2 separate regions of the Homo sapiens genome follow, and region 1 is linked to region 2. The links are contacts of gene promoters, found by promoter capture Hi-C in blood cells and fetal thymus (Javierre and others, 2016). All regions are on one chromosome and are shown on one strand. Each heading gives the region's core, a stretch centred on a gene start or on the middle of the fragment in contact. The rest is flanking DNA. Distances are from core to core; before and after follow the strand shown.

Region 1 (6,160 bases), core at 2,974-5,473, 2.3 Mb after region 2:
AAAACAAAAACATACCATGGGCCAATGTCTACACACAGATGTCTATCTTGTGCTAAGCACAATTCAATGCTGAAATCATCCACATATGTCCTAAGAAAACTCTGTCCTTAACACACCGTCTGGTTTTCAGTATTTTTTATTAATGGATGGTGAAAGTAACCAACAGCCAAACTTCTGTGCTGTACTTTTTGGTGAAATTTTAAACATTTTCATTATTGACTCCCACACAAAGGCACATCTCCACTACCCCAGAAATCACCCTATTGAGTTTTTTTTTAAAAACATTTAATGGGATCCATAGCATGCTTCAACCCACAAAACCAGCCATTTAAACCAAATTCTCTATTTTATCACCCTTTAGTCACAGACAAGTAGAATTTCTGATGTGACCTGATTCCTTTCCACTAAAGACATACTTCCAGAATCTTGCTTTTTCACAACTACACAAATACACAAACTCCATCTGTCTTCTAAAGAAAAGATTGACTGGTTAATAATACAAAAATCAAATTTGTCTATGTAGCCTGGAAAAACCTCAGATACGTATACAGTCTCTCATCCTTTTGAAATTTCCCAAAGTGGTAGTCATGTGACAAGAGCAAATATCGTGTCTACTCAAGTGAAGGCAGTCCACCATTATCTTTATTGTTTGAATTGGTTAGAAGCTGTAATCATGCTTGAGAAAGTGTCACTGCTTGTAATTTGCATGCCCACAGCCAGAATACAAAGTTGAAATTTTAGGCATCAAGAATCAGATTTCAAAAAGGTTTCCTTCATCCACTAGCTAAGCTCTTGAAGTGAAATAAACAAACATGTATCTCCTTCTATTAACAACGTAATCTTCAAAATACACACACAGGGCAGGGACATACAATATGATGATGGCTACTCATACTCCTGATCCTCAAGAAACTTCTAGTTTAGCAGGCATGATGAAGTCCATTCACCAATAGTGACAGTACCAGGCAGTATGTAATAAAGAATTTAAAATTCATATTTGTGTCTGTCATGTTTTATTACACACATGTCATTTCTCTGCTACCTACAAGTGCACAAAAAGCACCTGAAGGGAAATACCTCTCTCATCCAGCTTTGCACACCTGACACGGCACCAGACATACAGAAGGCACAACAAAATGGATTTAAGTTTCAGGGAATCTTTATTAGTTCGAATGTCACAATACAGCTAAAATTTGAAAACACCAGAGATTTTAACTCAGAGACAATGTGGAAACATTCTACTATAAATTCTTCTAAAAATCAACTGCAACGTTCATATTTTATAGCAATAATTTCATCACATGGTCTATGATGAAACAGAAGGAAATCAATCACCTAGGTTATTACTGGTATCCTTCATCTAAAAACAGTCCTCATGTTCACTCAACTAGATTATACAGTATTTTCTGATTTTTTTAAATAATGTGCCATGTCCATGAGAAGAAATAACTCTCTCCAAAAACATTCAGCTATATGTTTCATAAATATTTGTTCTACTTCATAGCAAATTCTGCATTTTATATGTGTTCATCCACACAAATGCTGATGTGACAATTTTCTATGTTAAGAATAACTTGGGGAAATTACTATAAGTAGTTCCCTCAAATTTGGCAGAATATAATTTCAGTCAAGATTGATTTTAAGAATAATTTTTTTAGAATAAGAATCATGAAAATCTAAGGTTCAATTTAAAACACAGAACAGGCTCTACAATACTTTTTTAAAAAGTGACCGTCTACAATTACAGTATTACCATTTGGACTTCTAACGTCTTTCATTCTGCTAAGTTCAAAAATTTTAATATACCTTATTTTAATAGAAGCTCTTGAGTTTCAGCAGAGGCTCTTAACCTGTTGTATTCACAACCAACAGTTACTCAGAATGAATACAGAACATCTAACATGACCACTCCAATTTTCCAAATAAAGAGGAGGGTACAGAAGGAAAATGCAACAGATAAAATCACATTAATGAAATGCACATGCAGGCGAAGGACACATGTTGAAAATGCTGTAAGAAACGGAAATGATACAGCATAAAAAATCATTTTTGATTGGGACATGATTAAGAAAAGACAGTAACTAAACTACCACCAAAGTTGGGAGTATTGGGGCGGAGGAGAGCAGGGAAAGCAGACACTGCATTGTTAATAAAGGTGGAAGCTAGGGCTTGACCCTCACTCAAACAATGAAGAGACAGACAACGGCAAACTAGATCTGGGTCAAGTGAGTCTGATGGCAGCCCTGAGGTTGAGGGACACTTCGTCAAGTCTCATATGCACAAAGATAACCCCAGGACTCAACATCCACAGCCTCAAGTATGGCTATCCCAGTATATCCTTCACAGAACTGCTACAAAGATTAAGCAACAGTCTTTGATTCATTAATCTATCTTTTTCTTCTTAATGTCTTAAAATGCAACTTAAGTTTCCCAATGTTCACACTTTGCATCCTGTCCACTTCTTTACACATGAATGAAATTCCTTTAACAGACACTGGACCTCAATTCCATATTAAAAGCTTAAGATGAAAACGCCTGAGTTGAAGCTATATTCTGGCTAGCCCTCATTCAGGAACAAGCCAGCCCAATCAAGGGCACATAGTAATAGGTCACTAGAGTTTCTGATACTGATTTTGAGGGCAGAGGGTACGTAAAGAGGAGGCTGGGGAAAGGATGACACCTTTTTGCTTAGGAGAAGTCAGGTTTAACAAAAGGGGTGGGGAACAAACAGAAGCTGTGGTTGACCTAATTGCTCCTATGATTTATCAATTTTATTTTCATCTTTAATCTTCAACTTTACATAAAGAACTTTGTATGTATATGTGGCCTTTTCATTGTGCTACAGGAAAACCTCATTTACTCACCCAAAATGATTTTGTAAAGTATAAAACCATTAAGCAGCTTGTGATGTAAGACTAAAGAGGTAACATAAACTGATATTTCACTGGGCATACCAAACTGTGAATAATCCTTTCAACCAGATAGTGCTAACAGTCACTTCTCAATAGGAAGGAACTGCCATTTTCTCAAAGAGACTGCGAAATTATGCCAGGATGGCTGAACCTTCTTATGTCTCTTTTTATATTTTCCCAGAGAATCCACATTGCTTACACACACACACGCAAACCTGCTCCCTTTTCTTAAGTCACAGTTTTAAGGCACTGTTCTAAACCCTAAATACAGAAGCTCATGCACTTACTGCCAGTGTCGCTTTGGAACTGCAGGTGACAGATGCAGTCAGAGAGCTCACAGATGTGGATTGACTGCAGTTTGAGTCTTATTGCAATGAGCACATTGACAGAGCCTGCAGATGCACATCTCGGCAGGAGAGATTTTCTTTTTAAGCCCTCATGCCCTATTAGATTTACTTTTAGGGCTTTTATTGGCTATTTTTATCACTTATCCCGACTCTCATCCCTGCTTAGCCCTACCCACAATTCATTTTCTCTTCTTCAGTTCTAGATCCTTCTCCATCAATCCTAATTTTGGTCAAAAATAATAATAAAATAAAGCGAGGCTGCCGGCATTGCCAGAATCAGAAACCGACGAAGCCGCTTTTTGGGAGCTATTAGAGAAGCCGCTGTAAGTTTTCTGAGAAGCAACGGACCCCTAGCATCTTTGCACGGTCCCTCTTCCCCTGGGTGATGGCTCCGAGACAGATGAGGAATCTCTTTTCCCCGTCTTTCCCAGTGGTGGCTTAAACGAAAGATAACCCTTCTTTTCTTATCCTACACCAGGCTCGGTAACGCTCCCAGGTACGGACGCCCCACCCCCAACCCGTTATCCCTAAAGAGATCCCCAAATATCGCCCGGTCCTCTTCAGAACTGAGCCCTCCCTCGGCCACCGGACCGGTTTCCCCCACCTCAGCGGCTGCCCTCCAGTCGCCCGCCCCCACACATCCCACCCCAAGTCTGGCCCGGGCTCCGCACATGCCCACCCCGCGCCCAGACGCCCCGCACCCGGTGCTCAGGCCGCTCAGCCGCCCGCGCTCCCTGTGCCCAGGGTCGCCTAGGGGGTTACCGTGGGAAGAGGGAGCGGTGGCTGAGGACGCGGCGGCAGCGCTGCTGCCGGTTGCGTCGGATGCGAAGGAGAAGCTGGAGGACAAGGATGAGGATGAGACGGGCGCGCTCCCCAGTCTCCATGGAACTCCCGCCCCGGCCCGTTGCTAGGAGCCCCCGAGGCTCGGACTCCGTCTTCCTTGCTTTGTTGTTCCGGGTGCGAGGCGGCCGCAGCTTCCCCGCGACAATAAATAGACTAGACGCTGGGGAGCATAGAGACAGTGCGCGAGGGCTAGAGCGCCGCCGGACAGGGCGCTCCTGGGTGCCTCGCTAGCCACTCATTTCCGGCTCTCACTGCTCCCGTCACTTTCCCCGTCCCCCGCCCCCACCCTTCCTTCCTCCTTCCTGGTCCCCAAATCAGGCCCCTCCTGCCCACCCGCTGGGCTCGGTGGGAGGTAAGAGGTGGGATGGGGGCGGCGCTAATGGGCATCGGACTAGACTTTTTTGTTTAAGAACCGCTTGAAAGGGTTCTGAAAACACCGTGTATCCTTTGTATATTTTTAGTTGATATCTAAACGTGTAGTAATTTCTGGCATACAGTCGAATATTTAGGTGGACTTTTTTGTCAAAACCGTAGAACTTTCTCATCAGCTCATTAAATTTATACAAAAGGTCCTCCCCACCCCCCATTATATAATTGCTAAAGCTAGTCCTTACCGTCCAGACGAGACTTGTTTTCTGCCTGAAAAAAGTCCTTCGCTTTTTCAGTCAAAATGAACCCGTTAATTTATGATGTCGCGATAAATTCCCCTAGTGAGATTCCTCACTAGGCGAATTGGAATCCTGGTCTTAGAGCGACCGGGGATGACAGATGACAGACGGAGGGAAGGAAGTGGGGAGAGATGGAGACACAAGGTGTGGCGAGACGGAGGGATAACGCAGGACCGTATGCCACTTCTGTCGCCTGTCCCACATTCCTTACTCTACGTGGGTTTGCGGTCGGGACTGTCCCTCGGGAACCGAGAGGCGGATCCAGGAAGGATGGGAGTGGGAGAGGGCGGATGCTGGCGAGGACTCAGGCAGCCCGGGATAGGAGGACCTCTAGGAACGGAGACCCTCCGCGGCTCTGCGCCCAAGTAGCCCTGCAGGGGCCGGGGGACCCCGGGGGCGCACAATGGCCCGTTTGAACCGTCGCCCTGGGGCCCGAGTGCGTCCTCGGGGTCCCTCGGGAGTGGCCTGAGAGGCGCTGCCCGCGGGAGCGAAAATCGCGTAACGGCCCTGAGGGCGCCACGCCACGCCACGCCACGCCACGCCGCGCGGAAGCCCCCGGCTCCCGGCCCCACGTTTCCCACTCTCAGGCCGGCATCGGCCTTTCCACCAGAGCTCGGCTGCAGTCAGAAGCCCCTGGCGTTAGTTGAGGTCAATGGCAGCCCTGATTTAATTATTAAAAGACCACGCCGAGCCGGGTTCATGGGTACCTGGCCTCTGATTGGTGGGAATCAGATGAAAAAAATGAAAATGCCACTGCCTTTTTAAAAGAGAAGACGTGGGCTGAATTCTTGGGGTTTTGACAGTAGGCAACCATTTAGGTATTTTATTATTTACGAGATCTCCAAGGATGCCTCTTGATTTTTTGCTTTCCCCTCTGAGTGTTCAGAAACATATTCGAGCATTTGAAAGCTCCGTAGAATGATGGAGTTTGTTTTCATTTCTGTACTAATTTATTTTTCAAGGGATAGTGATTATAGTTGGGTCAGGTTTAATAAAGAAAGTGAACAAGAAGCTGGGTTAGAAAGTAATGTCTGTGTGGTGGTGGGGAGAGGACTTTTAGGAGGTAACATCTCAGCCAATTTCTAAAAGGGATGGGAGTGGGAAGAATGTATGTAGAGTGTTCCAGTCAGAGGGAACAAGATATGCTGAGTACTTGCTGTGCTGGGGTATTAGTGTGGCTAGGGCATCAGGAAACAGTGCAAAGGAAGAATGACAGTCATTGAAATTGGAGGGAAATTAAGGTCTTGAACTTTCAGTGCCTTGTAGACCATAGAAGGAGTTTGGACTTTCTTCCAAGTGCTAGGGAAAGTGGAGTTTTAGCCTGGAAAATAACATGATTTGCCAAGGAAACGGCAGGGGAGACTCTCTATTCCAGTGGCTACTGCCACTC
Region 2 (6,320 bases), core at 2,178-4,677:
GGCCACCACGGCAGGCTAATTTTTATATTTTTAGTAGAGACGGTTTCACCGTGTTGGCTAGGATGGTCTTGATCTCTTGACCTCATGATCCACCCGCCTCAGCCTTCCTAAGTGCTGGGATTACAGGCGTGAGCCACTGCGCCCGGCCTAATTATTCATTTTCAATGTCGAACTTTCCTCACATTATTTTAAATACCACTTTTATTCAAAATTTCCAAGCTTACCATTATACAAAGTTCTCTTGCCATTTTAAACCATTTGAATATTCCAGATATTCCAAAGGATAAAAGATAACAACCTATTGTTTAAAAGGAAGTAGAAAGGCAATACAGATTTCAGATGAAGCCCTGAAAGTAATTGGAACAGCCATAAAGAGTTTTCATGGTGCTGTCATATTTCAGGTTAGTGTGAAACATGTTCTAGCACTTCAAATCCAGCATTTCACAGCTACTGTCTCTGGCTAAGTTTACAAAGGGGGGGGGAGGGAAGCAAAAATTAGTAAATAATAGTAAATAACATTGGTATGTGGAAGGAACAAGGATGGAAGTACTTTGTGAATGACAGGTTTTCAAACATTTTTATCTAGATGCTGGTAACTCTGAAATTTACCTCTTAAACTTCTCTCCTGAACTCCATTTTTTCTCTCCAACTCTTCCCTGGATAGTTCTGCTGGAACTTAAACACTCCAAACTGTCATCATCTGTACCCCATCCTACTGCAAACTTATGTTCTTTATCCATTAAGCTAGTTGGACATCCCTATAAAGTGTTCTGTCTTCTCTCCACTGCCGCCCCGCCGTCCCCCCTCAACCCCCAATAATAGATGCTCATCACTATCCCTAGCTGCTGCATTGGTCTCTTAGCTTGGACTCTACCCATAAATTTCATCTTTATATTGCCATCTCTGGGATGTTTTTCAAGTGCAAAATTACAGTCATTTTAAAACCAAAATTTACGCATTGATGTCTTCCTGTTGTCTGAACCTCAGTCATGATGAGCTGTAGGAACTCCCTATGTACTGTTTTTGGCCACTTTGCCTTATGCTACTCCTTGTTCACTTACCTATCTTAAGTCTTACACCCTAGCAAAAAATTTCCAATTCCTCTTTTTGCTCAGGGGCCACTGAATGCAGCACATACCTTTAGGCTAGTAATTCATTCCATTTACATGTCTCCACCAGAATAAAATTTTAGCATTTAGTATTGTGCATGGCATACATACTGTAGTTATGTAATAAATGGTCCTTGAGTGTGTATAAATGAAAGAATGATAATTGCGTATTTATAAAGGCTTGATTTAATTTTATGTCTGCTGCTGCTGCTTGAAACAAATACAATCTGGGCTGTCTTAAAAATTGCTGGGATTACAGGCGTGAGCCACCGCTCCCAGCCAAGATAGGTTCTTGATTGCTGTGTTCAAATCCTTAAAAGGCTTTGCTAGAGAAGAGACATGTTCAAATCACATAGGATCAGGAGACTGGTATTTGATACTTGTCCGATCTCCTCATTTTAACATGTTACATATTTAAAGGACAGAAATCAGAGTCAGTAGGTAAAAAATCTTAGGGACATAGACTTACTAGCTCAATATAGTGAGCTAATTCAATATAATGAGCTAATACTTGACAACTAGATACTTTAAAAAGTGTTAACATGCAGCTTGTGAATAGCAAGTTTTCTACCTGGATCAAACTGGGGGAGGGGAACACAGGAAAACTCCAGAAAGCAAGCCACTATATTTTTGAACACTACTCAGAGACAACAGAAAAGCTAGCTTTGTGATGTCAGAAAAGCTTTCTTGGACCCTATCTCATTCTAAGAGTTCAGGAAAATCTAATTTCGTGTAAAAATGAGCAATGGAAAAAGATGTCCAATCACATAAAATGTTTTTGTCAAAATGGAATTATGAATGCTTTAGTAAACTGGAAGAAATATCTCTGAAGAATTTAGAAGAAAGTTGTCAGCAAAGCATTTATGGATGTAGTATTTGACCTGGGTCCTCCTTGCTACTTAAATCAGTTGGAATATTAACCTATGTTAATAGTGCAGCTGGAAGAGTAGTGGTTCCGTTCTCATTCTGGAGGGATGTTTTCATTCTGGCCCTGTCTGTTTGCTGTTTGATAAGAGAGTGGGAAAGGGAGGGGGTTATAAAGTCGTGATTTATTCACAAGGGCAAAGGGAAGGACAAGGAACTTGAGAAAATTACTCCATCTAGGGTTTCTGATCCATCATCATCCTTGTTCTGCGCTCACTCAGCCGTATCCAGCTCTACTGGGCATATCACTATTATTGCTATCAATTGTTTTGCTAGTTGCTTAGTCCCAAATCATTATCATCTTTTCTGTCATTCCACATTTAGGTATTTTATTCAACAAATAGACTGAATGCCTATTATATACCAGACACTCTTCTAAAGCACTGGGGAAAGATAGAGCATGGATCAAAACAACTTCCTGTTCTCCTGGAGTCTACAATTTTGTTTGGTGGTAGTGGAAGCGTAACTAAATATATATGATAAGTGCTATAGAGAAAAGCAAATTAGGGTTAGAATGGAACGAGATGCCCCGCTGGCCTGTAAGCTCCAGGAGGACGAGGACCTGCCCTCTCATTAAGGTATTTTCCGTGCTTAGAATGGTGTCTGCTACGTAGTAGATATCTATTATTGGTTGAATGAATAAGTGATGTTGACCATAGATAAATTAGTTCAAAACTTAGATTTTCAAATTATGTCAGTAGCAGGCACACATCTTAAATTGTTATATCACTCCAGTGCACGTCTTGCTGAAATTCAGAAGAGGAAGCTATTTCGTATGAAGCCAATAACCTCAAATCAGAAATGAAAACTGGGATATCACCTGTCATATCACTTGCCATCCTCGGCTAAGCCAGGAGAGTGTCCGGCCCAATATTCGGTAGCCTGGATACGTAGGTGTATTTAGTGAACGAAAGAATGAATCCTAGCCACTGCAAAGCTGCAAAACCCTCGGGGGTAGTGCTTGGCTTCTGCCAGTTCCACAAGTATTTTAATATTAGCTGAACAAATGAAATGACCAAAAAATAAATCGCGATTTTGTGTCAGATGAACTTGGGAAGGCGGATGCGCTTAGGGTCCGGCTGTAGCGAGTAAGACACTCCCTGCGAAGAGTTCTGTGGGGTACGAACTCCGGACTGCGAGTCCAGCTCACGAGTTTGTACCTAAAACCTTGCCCTGCGGGAGCGACGCTGTCCTAACGCGACCTGCCCTGCCCGTCAGCTCCTATTGGCTGACTCTCGGAAGACCCGCCTCTTGAGAAGGAAAAGCAGTCGCTTCCCGAATTGCCTGACATCATGCAATGACCAATCAGAAGCAGCGATCTTCAGTTTTGCCCAATGAGGCTGGTTACGGGTCCTGGCCCGCGGAGTTTGATTTCGTCCTGGGATGCGGAAGTAGCAGTCCTGTCATGCGGAAGTAGCAGTCCGGTCCTAGGGACTAGCAGGTGGGTTGGTTGGGCGCAGGAGGACGGGGGCGCGCTTCCCATAACATTACCCTGGCTGAGCGTGAGGCTCCAGGGCTGGGCACCGGGTTGACCTCTTATTCCTCGCTGAGGGCATCGTTACCGCCTGTGGCTGCAAGCCGAGGCGCGCGGGTGGAAACTGGGTCGAGGTCTGGGTAGACGTCTGAGCGATCTGCACAAGGAGTGGCGCAGTCTGGAATTTGATTGAGGATTCCTAACGCCCTCCGCTTGATGTTCTGGTGATTCCCGGGGGCTCGGCTTCGGAGGAAGGTGAGCAAGGCTACCACGCTGTGTTTGGAGAGCACCAGGAAGCTTGTGACCAAAGCGAGGGACGCGATCCGGCTCTGGTCACGGCCTGTTACTAGATGGGTGACCAAGTCACGTCCCGTATCTGGAATTCATGCTTCTCATTTTAAAAGAGTGAGGAGGGATGGGCATTCCACATGGCTGGGGAGGCCTCACAATCATTGCTGAAGGCAAATGAGTAGCAAAGTCACATTTTACATGGTGGCAGGCAAGAGGGCTTGTGCAGGGGAACTCCTGTTGATAAAACCATCACATCTCATGAGACTTATTCACTACCACGAGCATAGTATGGGGGAAGCTGCCCCCATGATTCAGTTATCTTCACCTGGCCCCACCCTTGACACGTGAGGATATGTGTGTGAGAAGAGCTACTGTTTATTTTTTTAAAAACTGAGTCGTCCCTTGCCTGCTTTCAAGGGTTGGCTAAACTCACCCATCTGCTAAGAGTCTCAGCCCAAAGCTTTCAGGAAAGAGCGAGCTTCGCTGTGGCATGTAACTTGAAGCCTTGCCTACTAAGTAGATGTCCAGTTTGTTGATTGGTCTCTATTAACTAGGCTCAAACATCCTACGAGGTTTTAATGTAATCTAACCAATTAATTGAAATTTCCTTTACAACCCTCTCTTTCCCCCAGACTTCCCCTTCCTTTCTTTTTCTCTGACTTAAAAGAATGCTGGCTAGGAGAAATTAGTTGACTGTGTCGTGTATCAAGAGGACTTTTCCAGGTTATGTAGTACAATTTGGCATTTATTTGTCAAGAGTAACATTTTCTAAAATTTTCCCCAAAGGCACCAAGAAACTGATAATGTTCCTTTGAATTGGCTTCTGTATTTGCTTCATCAATGTCTCTCATACTGAATATCTTAAGAGAGATGCTGGAATATTTTGGCGTTCCTGTAGAACAGGTAAATGTCGTTTTGGATTGGAATGGATCTGTTGTATTTGTTCTTGGGTTTCATTTTGAAAATGACTTATATGTAATCATTTGATTTAAGGCAAAGTTGTTGCTTCTTTTTAGTTGGAACAAAGGTGAGTTTGTAATAGTATAGCTTTGATGATTTGAGTTAGAAGAGGGATAAGATTATTGAGAACATATTTACCTGATAGGACAAATGCCAACAGAAGATACAAAGGAAGCAAAATATAGACATGAGCTTCACAGAATTACATTTATTGCACAGATACATTAAAACTTCTATTCAAGGTAATTTATAAACAAGTTCAATATTTAAAGCTCAATAAATCCAGAATAAATCTAATGGAAAGAGGATGATTTAGGCCTGAGAATTATAAGCTGTATTAGTCTGTTCTCATGCTGCTAATAAAGACATACCGGAGACTGGGTAATTTATAAAGGAAAGAGGTTTAATTGACTCACAGTTCCACATGGCTGGGGAGGCCTCACAATCATTGCTGAAGGCAAATGAGTAGCAAAGTCACATTTTACATGGTGGCAGGCAAGAGAGCTTGTGCAGGGGAACTCCTGTTTATAAAACCATCACATCTCATGAGACTTATTCACTACCACGAGCATAGTATGGGAGAAGCTGCCCCCATGATTCAGTTATCTTCACCTGGCCCCACCCTTGACACGTGAGGATAATTACAATTCAAGGTGAGATTTGGGTGGGGACACAGCCAAACCATATCATAAGCAAATCAAATTTTATCTACTTGTTGAAAATCTGCTGTATCTAAGACAATATGCTTGTTTCTGCAGGTAATACAGAGGAGTAATACATGGTTGTATTCATAATGCTTAAAATATGAGGAATAAGAAACAATAAAGATAACTGTAATATGAGATTGTAAGGAAGACGGGTGGGGTGAATTAGAAGAAAGTAGTCAAGGATAATTTAAGATTTTTTTAAAGCAAAAGTAAGTTGAAGAATCATAGTACCATTATTATAAATGGGCATCTTAGTATGAGAAACTAGTTTGAATATGGAGATGAGGTGAGTCAGAGGTGATGTTAGAACATATAAGTAGAAATATCCTTCAGACAATTGGATATATATATGGTTTTAGTATGTAGGAAAGAAAAAGATTCAGTTTTGGGAGTTATCTGCTTTGTTTTGATATTTAAAGCCATGGACTTCGATAATGGCAAATGTCATTAGATGTGATTGAAACATTCTAAATATCAGTAATCGAGAGACTGAAGATAACAGCTGAACATTTGTTTATCACTATTAGGTTATTGGTGACCTTAAGAATTTCTGTAAGTGGAGAATGGGACTGTGTTGGAGTAGTTTGAAGAATATCAGGAAGGGAGGTGGGATCAGCAACCTTCTTTTGAAAAGTTTGCTTGTGAAAAGAAATTGAGAGAGGCCATCAGCCTGAAGGGGCCGCAGGATGGAATTTTTCTTTTTCTTTTAAAGTTAGAAGTAACTTCAGCATATTTGTCATCACTCTGGAAGAAACAGACAGGAAGAAATTTAAGATCCACATGAGAGAGGATTGAGCACCGCCTTTGAGAAGGTAGTTGGGCAAGGGATCTAATTAAATAAGTCTTGGAAAGGAG

Evidence for each region. The method cuts DNA at HindIII sites, captures the fragments that hold promoters and counts their contacts. A CHiCAGO score of 5 or more calls a contact.
Region 1: the fragment with the promoter of TBPL1 here is called in contact with the fragment with the promoter of MTFR2 in region 2 in 3 of 17 cell types (non-activated CD4 T cells, activated CD4 T cells and fetal thymus); the score reaches 10.2 in non-activated CD4 T cells.

The regions. Positions count from the first base shown.
Region 1 is chr6:133,951,287-133,957,446 of GRCh38, reverse strand. It overlaps TBPL1 (TATA-box binding protein like 1), which reads right to left and starts at 4,223. Exons shown (of 7, transcript NM_004865.4): 1 at 4,022-4,223. It overlaps LOC128092253 (umcharacterized LOC128092253), which reads right to left and starts at 4,143. Exons shown (of 2, transcript NM_001414965.1): 1 at 4,022-4,143. The coding sequence starts at 4,143. RefSeq lists a silencer at 5,116-5,225. The HindIII fragment of the contact is 10,274 bases long and covers 2,522-6,160 here.
Region 2 is chr6:136,247,418-136,253,737 of GRCh38, reverse strand. MTFR2 (mitochondrial fission regulator 2) reads left to right here and starts at 3,427. Exons shown (of 8, transcript NM_001099286.3): 1 at 3,427-3,762; 2 at 4,585-4,701. The coding sequence starts at 4,639. RefSeq lists enhancers at 2,958-3,107, 3,758-3,977. The HindIII fragment of the contact is 2,013 bases long and covers 1,794-3,806 here.